Linked DNA regions of Homo sapiens: regions 1 and 3 are each linked to region 2. Evidence: promoter capture Hi-C in human tissues and cell types (Jung and others, 2019). All regions are on one chromosome and are shown on one strand. Each heading gives the region's core, a stretch centred on a gene start or on the middle of the fragment in contact. The rest is flanking DNA. Distances are from core to core; before and after follow the strand shown. Region 1 has its middle 310 kb from the start of LRATD1. Region 2 holds the start of NBAS (NBAS subunit of NRZ tethering complex). Region 3 has its middle 350 kb from the start of LRATD1.

Region 1 (3,525 bases), core at 184-2,683, 620 kb after region 2:
CCTGATTCTCTTACCATCTGTTCAGAGTTTTTTTTTTTTCTTTCACTTTTCACTTTCTGTGTCCCTGAGGACTGTCTCGTCTTCATATTTGAGTTTTGAAAGATTGCTGGTGATAATCTTGTGCCATATGTTCATTTTTTGATTTTCTGTAAGGGCTAGTGATGTCAGCTTGCTTGTATGCCACCATTTTGGAACCAGAAATCTCACTGTTCTTTTAATACCTTCATGGAAAGTGAACTCATATCACTGAAAGTCACCAAGGTTCAAGTCACAGCTGTATCAATGATGGGCTGTGTGATCCTGTGTATGCTTCTTACCAGTTGTGTCAAGGACGTGTTGGAGAAGAGTACCGACCTTGTAGGGTTGGGGTGAAAAATAAATGAGATACTTGAAGTGAAGCACTTTACACTGTGCAGGATTCATAGCAGGGATTAGCAGTTTTTTGTTTTTTTGTTTTTTTGTTTTTTGTTTTGAGACGGAGTCTCACTCTGTCGCCCAGGCTGGAGGGCAGTGGTGCGATCGATCTCGGCTCACTGCAAGCTCCGCCTCCCGGGTTCACGCCATTCTCCTGCCTCAGCCTCCCGCGTAGCTGGGACTACAGGCGCCCGCCACCATGCCCGGCTAATTTTTTGTATTTTTTAGTAGAGACGGGGTTTCACTGCGTTAGCCAGGATGGTCTCGATCTCCTGACCTCGTGATCCGCCCGCCTCGGCCTCCCAAAGTGCTGGGATTACAGGCGTGAGCCACCGCACCTGGCAGGGATTAGTAGTTTTTTTTATTTGGTTGAACGAATGGAGCAATCATCCTCATAGCTTCCTGGAGAAGCAGGGGGAACTTTGTGGACCAATGTGGTTCCTTCTTTGGGACTTGGTGAGATGGTGCCTACTCCTTGTTTGCTGTGCTTGCAAAAAAGGAATCATGGGGCTTTCTCAAATCCTATTGGAAAATAATTTACTTTGAGGTTATAGTCATGAAGTTTAAAAAATTAATAAAAATAGAAGCGATTCTATCAGAGACATAATAAAAGAAACAAAGTTCCTAAGAATCTGAACACCTAGGTTTCAATTCTGACTCCAACATTTGTGAGCTCAGGCAAATCACTACTTATATCTGAGACTCAGTTTTCACAGATGTAAAACAAGGGTAAGGGTTATTAATTAATAATAAAGTGGTCTTGAATATTTATGTACAAAGAACTGTGCTAATTACTGGAAGGTGATGCATTAATAATGTAAATTACCCTGAATGTTTTCTTCCAAATATTATATTCTGTGATTGTATGAATTTTCTAGGTTGACACTGCAATGCAATTAGGTAGCTTTTAGGAATTACAGTCAGAAGGCAATTTTACAGCAGATACGCTTTTTTATTTGTCAGTAAAGAAGAATGTTTCCAGCCTCTGGGTTAAAGTTAGGCTGTAACATGAAAATATACATGAAATTGGTAAGATAAAATTATTAGTGGCTCTTTTAGTTCTGCTCATGCATGGAATTAAGGGGATAAAGTGGTTCTTTGATGCAGATGTAGTAAAGCTTGCTACAAGTGTATCCGGTGGCCTTTCATTCTGAAGGTTTTGGTGAGTCATTGAGAGTCCCTGATTAGGAACATGACTAGAAGCTTTGCATTAGAACGGCTCATTTGATAATTTATGCATGTGCTTCCAAATTTGGAGGGCAAAAGCCTGGGGAATATGCTAATAGCCTCATGCTGAGAATGAGGAAAGAGAGAACATGCTGTTCATTAGCCATAATAAAACCATAAGGAGACCCACCTTTGCGTTCCCTTTGCTGAGGGAGGTATATTCAGAGAAGAAGGCAGATCTGCAGAGAGGTCCCTGGCTCTCCTTTTGCAATAGTAGAAACCAGGTCTTGCCTTTTATTATGGGGCTTGGAGTCCAAAGAAAAGGACTACACTTCTAACAATACTTTAAGCATAGGTGAAAGTCATTTTTCTCTACAGATTGAGACTCAGCTGTGATGAGTTGAGCCTCTACTATGTGCTTGGGCCAGGCCTGACTAGACTGTGTAATATCTTCCTTTCTGTGGTCCTTGGCTTCTCCTTGTGTCAATAGGGGGTTTAGGCTTTAGCTGTGACACTCCACCTTTCCCCACAGGGAGTGGGAGTTAGAGTCTGTATTAGTCCATTCTCTCATTTCTATAAAGGAATACCTGCAATTGGGTAATTTATAATGAAAAGAAGTTGAATTGGCTCATGGTTCCACAGGCTGTACAGGAAGTATGATGTTGACATCTGCTTAGCTTCTGAGGAAGCCTCAGGAAACTTACAATCACAGTGGAAGGGGAAGGGGGAAAAGACATGTCACATGGCTGGAGCAGGAAGAAAAGAGTGAGGGGTGAGGTGCTACATAATTTTTAAACAGATCTCATGAGAACTCACTATCATGAGGACAGTACCAAGAGGGGTGGCACTAAACTACTCATGAGAAATCCACTCCCATGATCCAATCACTTTCCACCAGGCCCTACCTCTAACATTGGGAATTACTATTTGACACGAGATTTGGTGGGGACACAGACCCAAACCATATCAGGGTGCCTTCTAGATAACTGGCAGCTCTTGAATACCAATACAAAATTATCCTGAACGAGGTAGAATAGTTATTTTGGCTTTAGCTTCAACTCTCTGATAAACTTTTGGAAAATCACCCTTCTTTCTAGACCTCAGTTTCTATATTGTAAAATAAGGGGTTTGGAAGAGAATTTCTAGAACCATCGTGTCTCAATTTGGTACTCAACGGTTTGCAGTTGGGAATACCTGAGAAGCTGCTGGATATGTTCCCAACTAGTCTGAGAAAAAGCAAACCTACCCATTGGAGAAAAGAAGCAATGAACATTGTAACTCATCCTCCAACCAGTAGAGAGCCTCCCCCTCTTTCTCTGTGGGTATTATGTTTGCATATTGAAGTCAGTCAAGAAAGCAGAGACCAGAATAATCAAGGATGTGGAAGGAAATGAAGATGCTAAATCCGCAGTCTGATAACAATCTGTGGCTGAAAATAGGAGACCAATTCCTAAGACAAAATCAGCAGAAAATCTCAACAATCAGATAATTTGTCGCTATGACAATTGGGTTTAACAATCTCCTAATTGAGTGTAGTCCTCTGTGGGAGCGGGTGACACACAGCAGCAGCCTGAACAGCAGTCACCCTGTTTTCAGTGCTCCGGGAAGTATTTTGAGCCCGTCAGCAGACCATCCATCTGCTCTGCCTTCCTCCTTCCTGAAAAGTGCATCTGCAAGAAAGTCCAGGGCTGGAGGCCAGAACGGATGCGTTTGAAGCTTCCAGGATTCCTTTCCACTTAGATGAGGTCAGCAATTTCTGAAAAGAGCTCCCTGTTCTTTCTTGGAGTAGGAGCAAATGCTTTTTGAAGCTTTCAGAGGCCCACATGTAGAGGCTCTGTCCAAATGAGCTACACATACACCCTCCCAGCATTGCTCTGGGTGGAAAAGAGGCTTGTCTTTCTCCAAAAGCCTACAGAGATAGTCATATAAACATAGATCATCTGG
Region 2 (3,790 bases), core at 1,032-3,531:
GATGAAACAGAAAGCAACCCCAATATCTATCTGAGAAAGGATGAGACAGAGGAATAAAGAGCCAAGGAAACTTGGTGTGGAGAAATAGGTGGGGTTGTACTGAGGTACTGGAGGACTCCAGTAACCAGCCCTCACACCGCATTCCATGTGCATGGTGTTCCTGCCTCTTCATGTTCTACCGCATGCAATGTGGGCGGGGCTCCCCGGAGGTATACAGTTTGTCAGCCTTGTGCGGTAGGGAGAAGACACGTCTGGTGTTCACAATGAGGGGTTTGATTGAAGGGCACAGCTGCTATGCAGAGAAATACTATGGGGAGACAATGTGTAAAAGATTTTCTGGGAAGTCTGTCATTTATTCAACAAATAATATATATTTTGTCCTCTGCTCTATGCCAGGCACTGTTATAAATTCTGGGGATATAGCAGGGATGGATATAGCATTTGCATGCATATAGATAGAGCACCTGGCATGGCTTACCTTTTAGTGAATGGAGACAGATAATAAGCAAATATACTGTATAGCCATTTAAGTGATGACAAGTGTAATGGAAAAAATAATAGAGCAGCTCTGGAAAGCTGGAGTTGGAGAATGGTCATTGCAAATTTAAAAATGAGCAGTCAAGGTAGGCTTCAGAGAGAGACGACATTTGAGCAAAAACTTGAAGGAGATAAGGGAGGAACCAGGTAAACATCTGGTAGAAAGCCTTCCAAGTGGAGGGGACAGGCTTTGCAGAACTCCTGAAGTTGATGTGTGTCTGGTGTGTTCAGAAATAGAGCCAGTGTGGCTGAAGGTAGTAGGGGGAGCAGGAAATGAGGTGTGAGATTTAGGGGAGCAGGCAGATGACGTAGGGCTTTGAGGTCATTAAACTTTGAGAGAAATGGGAGCTGGTTAGAGGCTTCCCAGCAGAGGCTTTTAATTGCATCACCGCCTAATGCATCTTGATGGATATCATGAATATAATTATCTCAAGGGATATTCAGTATTTGTGTTTCTTTTGATGTGAAACAGTGTAATACTTTGTACAGTATATATTCATTCATGTTACAGTAGGCTCTGCTTATAACTGTCCACAAAGAGGTATTTGTTGAATGAATGAATGAATGAACAAATGGGGTTGACCTTTTCGCTCCCTCCATGCGGGTTCTCAACCTATTATTTCAACTTTATTGCCCCTACACCCTTTCTCAACTTGGGTTCTATTCACCCGTCTTGTTGAGTACTAATTAGGAAAAAAAAAAAGGCAGGCTAGTGGGAGCAGGGAAAAACAAAGAGATAAGGCAAATTAGCTATACGTCTGTCTTTCTTCATGGTCCAAAACATATAAACAAAAGGAAGAAACAAATAAGCCATAGGTCTACTTTTCTTTATGGCCCAGGACATATGGCCCTTCTACCCAGATAACGTACTTAACTCACAAACTTCCTGCTTACCTTCAAATGCCTCAATTTCTGAAACACTTCAGCTGACAAAAAAAAAAAAAAAAAAAGAAAGAAAGAAAAAAAAAAAGCAAGTTAACTCCCTGCTACCTGGTGTTATCAATCACTCCAAGTTCCAGTCTATAAAATTCTCAACAAGCCTTTGTTTCCTAGCAATGAGCTCCTCCTCTGCTGAGTCGGCCCGCTGCTCCCTGGCAACGAACTTTCATACTTTCTTTAATCTGTCTTTCTTTATCTACCACTGTCTTGGTAAATTCTTTTACTCCCACACTGAGAAAGTCGTCACTCACTGGCGACACGTTGAAAGAGTTCTTTCAACTCTGTATTTCTGCCTCTGTCTCTGCTCATTCCATTTCCCGCTACTTGAAATGCTTCTCCAGTAGATTAAAATTCTGCCTATTGTTAAAGACGCAGGGACAAGCTCCACGTCCTCCAGGAAATCCCTGCAGACTCTGGCCTTCGTTGCCTTTTCTGAGCTCCTGTAGCATCCTTCCTCTGCTACCTTTCATTGGATAACTTTAGTTGTTTATTTTAAAACCACTGTTTGAACTCTCTCTACGTGTTAGGCAAAGAATATACAAATGAACATTAGCATTTCAGTGGGGTACCTTTACCATTTCTGTTTTATGGAAACTGAGTTATAAGAGAGGCTCAATGACTTGGCCGATCTCATGTAGATTAATGAACAAGGAGTGTATCAGGACCGGGACACAAGTCGTTCCCAAGACAAGCAATAGTCCCTGTCCTTCCTACTCATAAAAGGGTTAACCTAGCATTTCCTTGCCGTGAAACAAAAGCGGCCGCGGATAGAGAAGCTTGTCCTGTGAGGGATTCCGTAGAGACACTCCTCCGCTGCCTGAGTCCTCGGCGAACATGGCGGCCCCCGAGTCAGGGCCGGCTTTGAGTCCAGGCACTGCAGAGGGTGAGGAGGAGACGATTCTCTATGACTTGTTGGTCAACACCGAGTGGCCACCGGAGACTGAAGTACAGGTGAACCAGGCCCATCTACAGCAGCAGCCAGCTTGGCGCGGGCGCTTCGTGGGTAGAGCCACGTAGCAGGAGCCACGTAGGGGAGTGGAGACGGGTGGGTGGGGGACTAGGGCCGGTTGGCTTGTGCGGTCGCCTTGGCAACGGCACCTTGGGCTAGCGGGGGTCTAGGGCGGGGTGGGGTGGTGGTCCCTGAGATTCTTCCTGGGCTCAGAATTCGGTTGTTGGGGGCTGGAACTTCGTGCTCTGGGGAGCGTACGATCCCACTTTGGTTCTCAGTTTCGCTCTCTGTATTGGGAGGAGAGGGGATTGTTAGTGTCGCTCTCTGTATTAGGAGGGGAAGGCACAGCGCTGGACTCGAGGGTCCTTTCTCCTATCTGGACCCTCAGTGGTCCCTTCTCGCGGTCTGGCTAGGGCTAGTCTGGGCCGACGCTCAACTGCGATGGGAGAATTTTCCAGGACCTTACAGTCTGCAGCATCTGCCAGGCTGGTGCAGAGCGCAGAATCTGAGCCTTTACCCATACTGGGGGCTGGATCGCGCCAGGTCTTGTGTGTTTCAATAAAAGAGCATTTAATAAGGGTGTGCGTGTCCGTTCGTCTGTCTCGGTGTCACAGGTGCTGTGCTAGGTGCTAAGGATACAGAGATGAATATGTTTTCGTGGAGCTTCTCGTCTAGAGGGGAGACAGTCCCGTAAACGTTTTTCATAACCTAGCGTTTTATGCGCTATAGTTAGCGATGTGAGCAAAATGCCACGGAAGTGCAGAGTAAAGAGCTGCTGACTGGGATTGGGATCTCCGCTACAGAAGGGTTATAGAGGTTGATAATTTATGGACTGGATCTTGGGATTATCAGTTGTTTGGTAGTGAAGGCCTCCCGGGTCTGTGATGAAGAGTAGGAACCATGGATCCATGTTTATTTTATTTTATTTTTTATTATTATTATTTTTTGGATCCATGTTTATTTAACAGATATTTATTGAGTGCTTAACACGTGCCAGTTACTGTTTTAGACCCAGAGGAAGCAGCCAGATCGAAAAGAACCTTTATTAAAGATTATGTAGTCCAGCCCATGTGAGTTATCTTACATTTTTTCTGAGTGTTTCTTTGCTGGAGAAACGACTCATTTTTCAGCCCAAAGTTTGTATTTTTTTCCTCTGTAGCCTCCTTCCCACTGCAGTTTGTGCTTATCATGAATAATTTATTTTGTAGACGGGTAGAGATCTGCATATATTACTGTTTAATTTCAAGTACTTAGTTTGTCTTAATGTGAATATTTTTTGGGTTATGCAGCTAGGAAGCTGTTGCTGAGGCAGCTGGTTAGATAAGTTTCCACTCCTTAACACTCATTGGTTAATTGCAGTAATGT
Region 3 (3,773 bases), core at 1,211-3,710, 580 kb after region 2:
TTTGGGTGAATTGAATTTTTTCTCTAGGCATAAGAGAAAATCTTTGTGAGGTAAGATTATGGGTAGCATAGCTTTATTCCCTTCATGCTTTCCGAGTTTTTATAATTAGCCCATCTTACTTTAAATATCAAGTAAAAAATGTTATGTTAAAGCTATGAGTATTAGTGCTTCCTTTTTGTTTGATATTTTGACAAAGCATTGTACCACAATAAATTTCTACATTCATATTTCTCTGCATAGTATACTTCCCAAAAGATATGAATATAATGTCTAAGGTGGTACCTTCCAACCCTATAGTCTGTGATTTTATGATATATATATATATATATTTGTCATAAGAAGAAATACCTGTCAGTATTAAGCCAGGCTATGTCGGTAAAATGCAATGCTTAGCAAACACCACTCAATCTAGTACACAAAGCAAAACGTTTATTTTTAATAAAAAAGAAGGAAATCTAATGTCTTGTAGAACTCACCAAGAGAAATCAGCAATACTGTTTTATGAATATGACTATTATTGAAATTGGTGCTTTGATAATTTCAGGCACTTATAAGACAATCAGCAACTGATGTTTGTCAAGTACATTTATTCTAAATAATCAGAATATTCCTTCTTGGTAACATATTGTTTAATTTAAAGTACATGTGCTCTATTAAAAGATATAGCATTTCATGAGCCAGATTATTATCATTTTTAAAATCTAAAGGCTAGGATTAAAAAAGTAACTGATGACCTGAAATCATGTCATATCTATTTTAGATCTATATTTATCTAATAATTAGGACATCAATTCCACTAGGAATCAAGGAGATAAACTAATGGACTTTGTCTTTTCAGTGTTTATTTCAGGTATTTCAGAATTTATAATTAAAAAAATAAAAATTTCTCACCTACTGCCTATTACATTTTTTCCTATGGAATTTGAGAACTCCTGTATTGATCAAATGATGGCATTTCTAGCATACTTTTTTTGTGGGTAACTTTGAAGAGTCTTACTTTATTAAGCAAACTTCATATTTGATTTTCCAAGTATTAAAATAGCCACCTTTCTTACAGATTGCTTTAGGGGAAGAATTCTTGATTGTCTAAACACTGAAGTTGTCTCATTGGAAAGTTCAAGTAAATAAACTTCAAGTGGTAAGCTATGGTCTATTTTCTGCAAATGAAGGAGGTTATTATCAATTTCTTTAAGTGTGCATGAAAATTGGTACTGTGAAATATAAGTAGGTCTTTATATGAAATAATTCAGTTAGGTTTCTTTAAAAAATCAGGAAATGATGGAGAATTGAAGAGACTAATGAAATGTAATATATATGAAAACCTCCTTTTCTCTCCATTGGTTGAAGGTGTACCGTAAGCTGGAGTTTATATTCTTAGGGGAGAAGGGTTCAGTGTATTAGATTAATTGTTTAACAACCTTATACTCGGTAGTGTTAAGTGTATTCTTTATCTGAACTGTTGTGGATTTAATGGGCTACTCTATATGTTGGCAGGAGATATTAGTATGGGAATTATAATGGAACATTTCAATCCATATCTTTTTAGTTAGTTGAAAACAGGTTTTTTTTTTTCCCCAATTATGCTGCCCCAAGATATACCTGTAAGGGATTTAAACACCTGAAAATGAGCAATTTAATTTTGCTCTGGGATATTTGTAAGATAATTCCTAGCTAAAACACACACTCAAAATAGTACCTTGTTAATAAAATGATTAACATCCACAATTTACATGTGAATTCTAACCAAATGCATTGCGCTTAAAAGGAGCTTTAATTATTTCAACTACTCATGTGGCTCTGGCCATAGTTTTACTGATCTCTACCTAGAGAATGCCATGGAAGATTGTGTGGTTAATGTCAGAAACTGGTTTTAGATCATCAGTACACTTGAGATTCCTAAGTGCACCCACTATATGACATGTAAACACCCTAATTTTCACATACCTTTTCAGAATTAATAATGCAATTTTAACTGCATTTGATTTTTTTATATTAAAGCAGTCTCAAAATCAAGTATAAAGGATTCAGAAATTCAAAGTGGAAGCCATGTATGTAATATTTTTAAATTCAGTGAATATCTTTATTAGGTACCCCACTAGCTTCTAGACATTTAAACCAACAATTACAATTTTAACTCCTCTAATACAAATGTATGGAAAGAGCCCCTGTCCTCAATAGATTTCTGCATTGAAACAGCAGTTATTGCTTCATAGTCTGAGATCTTGGGGACTCAGAGGAAACGATTTATATTTTTTATACACTCTTGTCCAACATCTTGCCTTTTCTCAGCTATTTAGTTGTCTGACTTTATCTTATTCCACTTTACTGTCACTAGAAGCTTTACTTCCTATCGTCTCTGCTGTTCGCAGCTGCGGGATATGTTTCCAGTTCTCTAGTTTTCTCTTGCTACCTTATGTTTTTCAGGCTAGCCCAAGTATGTTTAAAATTTTTGACTTGTTCCTGAAGTTGTTCTAATTTTTCCTTTAACCTGGGCAGGACTGACAGTGTTTCCTGGATGACAGTGTTTTCTCTTTCCTTTTTTCTTTAATCCCTCTTCTCATTATAGGACCAAAATCTGTTTTTAAAATCGGATCTATTTCTTCTGTTGCTGGCGTTCCCTGTGTAAACAATAGTGTTCTGCAAATATACCAATTCCGAAGCCTTCCCAGCCCGTCACTGTACATTTACCTCTGCTCTGACAGCTGCCCTTTGAACAATAGTATTCCAGACATGGGTTTTTATATTTCTCACTTATGCCTTTATTTATGATAATTTCACGAAGTTTTCATGAACTTGGGCCGCCATCCTGAGTTCCAAAAGATGACACCTTCCTAATTGCACAGGGACTTGCTCATTTGCTCTTCTGCTGCCTGCCTGCTCGTAGGGTCTAACACCTCACCCACCACCACTCTGAGGCATCTCACAGGCTGGGGCTTTCAGGTCCCCACTCAGCCTACACATCCAGCCACTTGGAAGTAGGTAGGAAAAGACCTGCCTACGTTCATGCATATGACCTTTCACATGATGTTCATGACTAATCAGCATTCTGGATGGAAAATGACCAACTCGAATTAACTCTTCTGTGATCACATCAACTCTTCTGGGGGTGGAGAAAGGGGTGGGATGGGGAATATGGAGGGAAGTATAGGGAGAGGGACAGAATTAGTGCTGGGCTAGAAATAGAACTGGAGTCTGACATATAAGCAGTTGTATTTACTGTATCTAGAGATGCATTCTATACCTCTAAAGTAGTTCACTTAGAGGGACTTTCAAATTCCGCTTCAGCTCACTTATTTCCCAACTAAGTCAGTGCTCACACACGCCCTTTAATGTATTCATTTGTTTTACGCTGAAAACACACAACCTTTAATGTATTCATTTGTTTTACACTGACTTGGAAATTGCCCTTGTTTCACCTTCTAATGATCTAGTCTACTAGCCGAAGTGCAAAAGTCTCACCTTGAAGGCATGGGAGTCATAGAGAATTGCCAAGGTCTCAGTGCCCATAAGGAGGTAGTGAACAGAGCTGAATCTAGGAAGGGTAGGGGGCAGAGACTAAAGTCAGGGCGTGGAGTTAAAGGATGAAACTAGAGAAAAGATGAGGAGTGAAGGAAAACCAGGTACATCGTGGGGCTTGGGCAGAGGGCGCTGAATGGCTGACTATGGTGTCAGCCATTTTCTTACCCTTGTCAAATAATCCTAATGCTTTTAAGTTTTCTTCATTGGTTATATATTGTTTTGTTGATAAAATGTTCTGAAATTGCATTTTTTAA

Evidence for each region. Contacts are between HindIII fragments. The study calls those that stand out against the background at their distance.
Region 1: a contact is called between a fragment that was not itself captured here and the fragment with the promoter of NBAS in region 2, in 2 of the 25 tissues and cell types used here (lymphoblastoid cells and thymus).
Region 3: a contact is called between a fragment that was not itself captured here and the fragment with the promoter of NBAS in region 2, in 2 of the 25 tissues and cell types used here (H1 embryonic stem cells and hippocampus).

What each region holds. Positions count from the first base shown.
Region 1 is chr2:14,941,251-14,944,775 of GRCh38, reverse strand. It overlaps a transcript of NBAS not described here. Among named protein-coding and RNA genes, the nearest start is that of LRATD1, 310 kb to the right of the region's middle. The HindIII fragment of the contact is 3,821 bases long and covers 1-3,343 here.
Region 2 is chr2:15,559,825-15,563,614 of GRCh38, reverse strand. It overlaps NBAS (NBAS subunit of NRZ tethering complex), which reads left to right and starts at 2,281. Exons shown (of 52, transcript NM_015909.4): 1 at 2,281-2,427. The coding sequence starts at 2,311. LOC105373440 (a long non-coding RNA gene) reads right to left here and starts at 1,467. Exons shown (of 4, transcript XR_001739297.2): 1 at 1,432-1,467. RefSeq lists an enhancer at 2,082-2,491. The HindIII fragment of the contact is 7,047 bases long and covers 70-3,790 here.
Region 3 is chr2:14,984,029-14,987,801 of GRCh38, reverse strand. It overlaps a transcript of NBAS not described here. Among named protein-coding and RNA genes, the nearest start is that of LRATD1, 350 kb to the right of the region's middle. The HindIII fragment of the contact is 6,561 bases long and covers 1-3,773 here.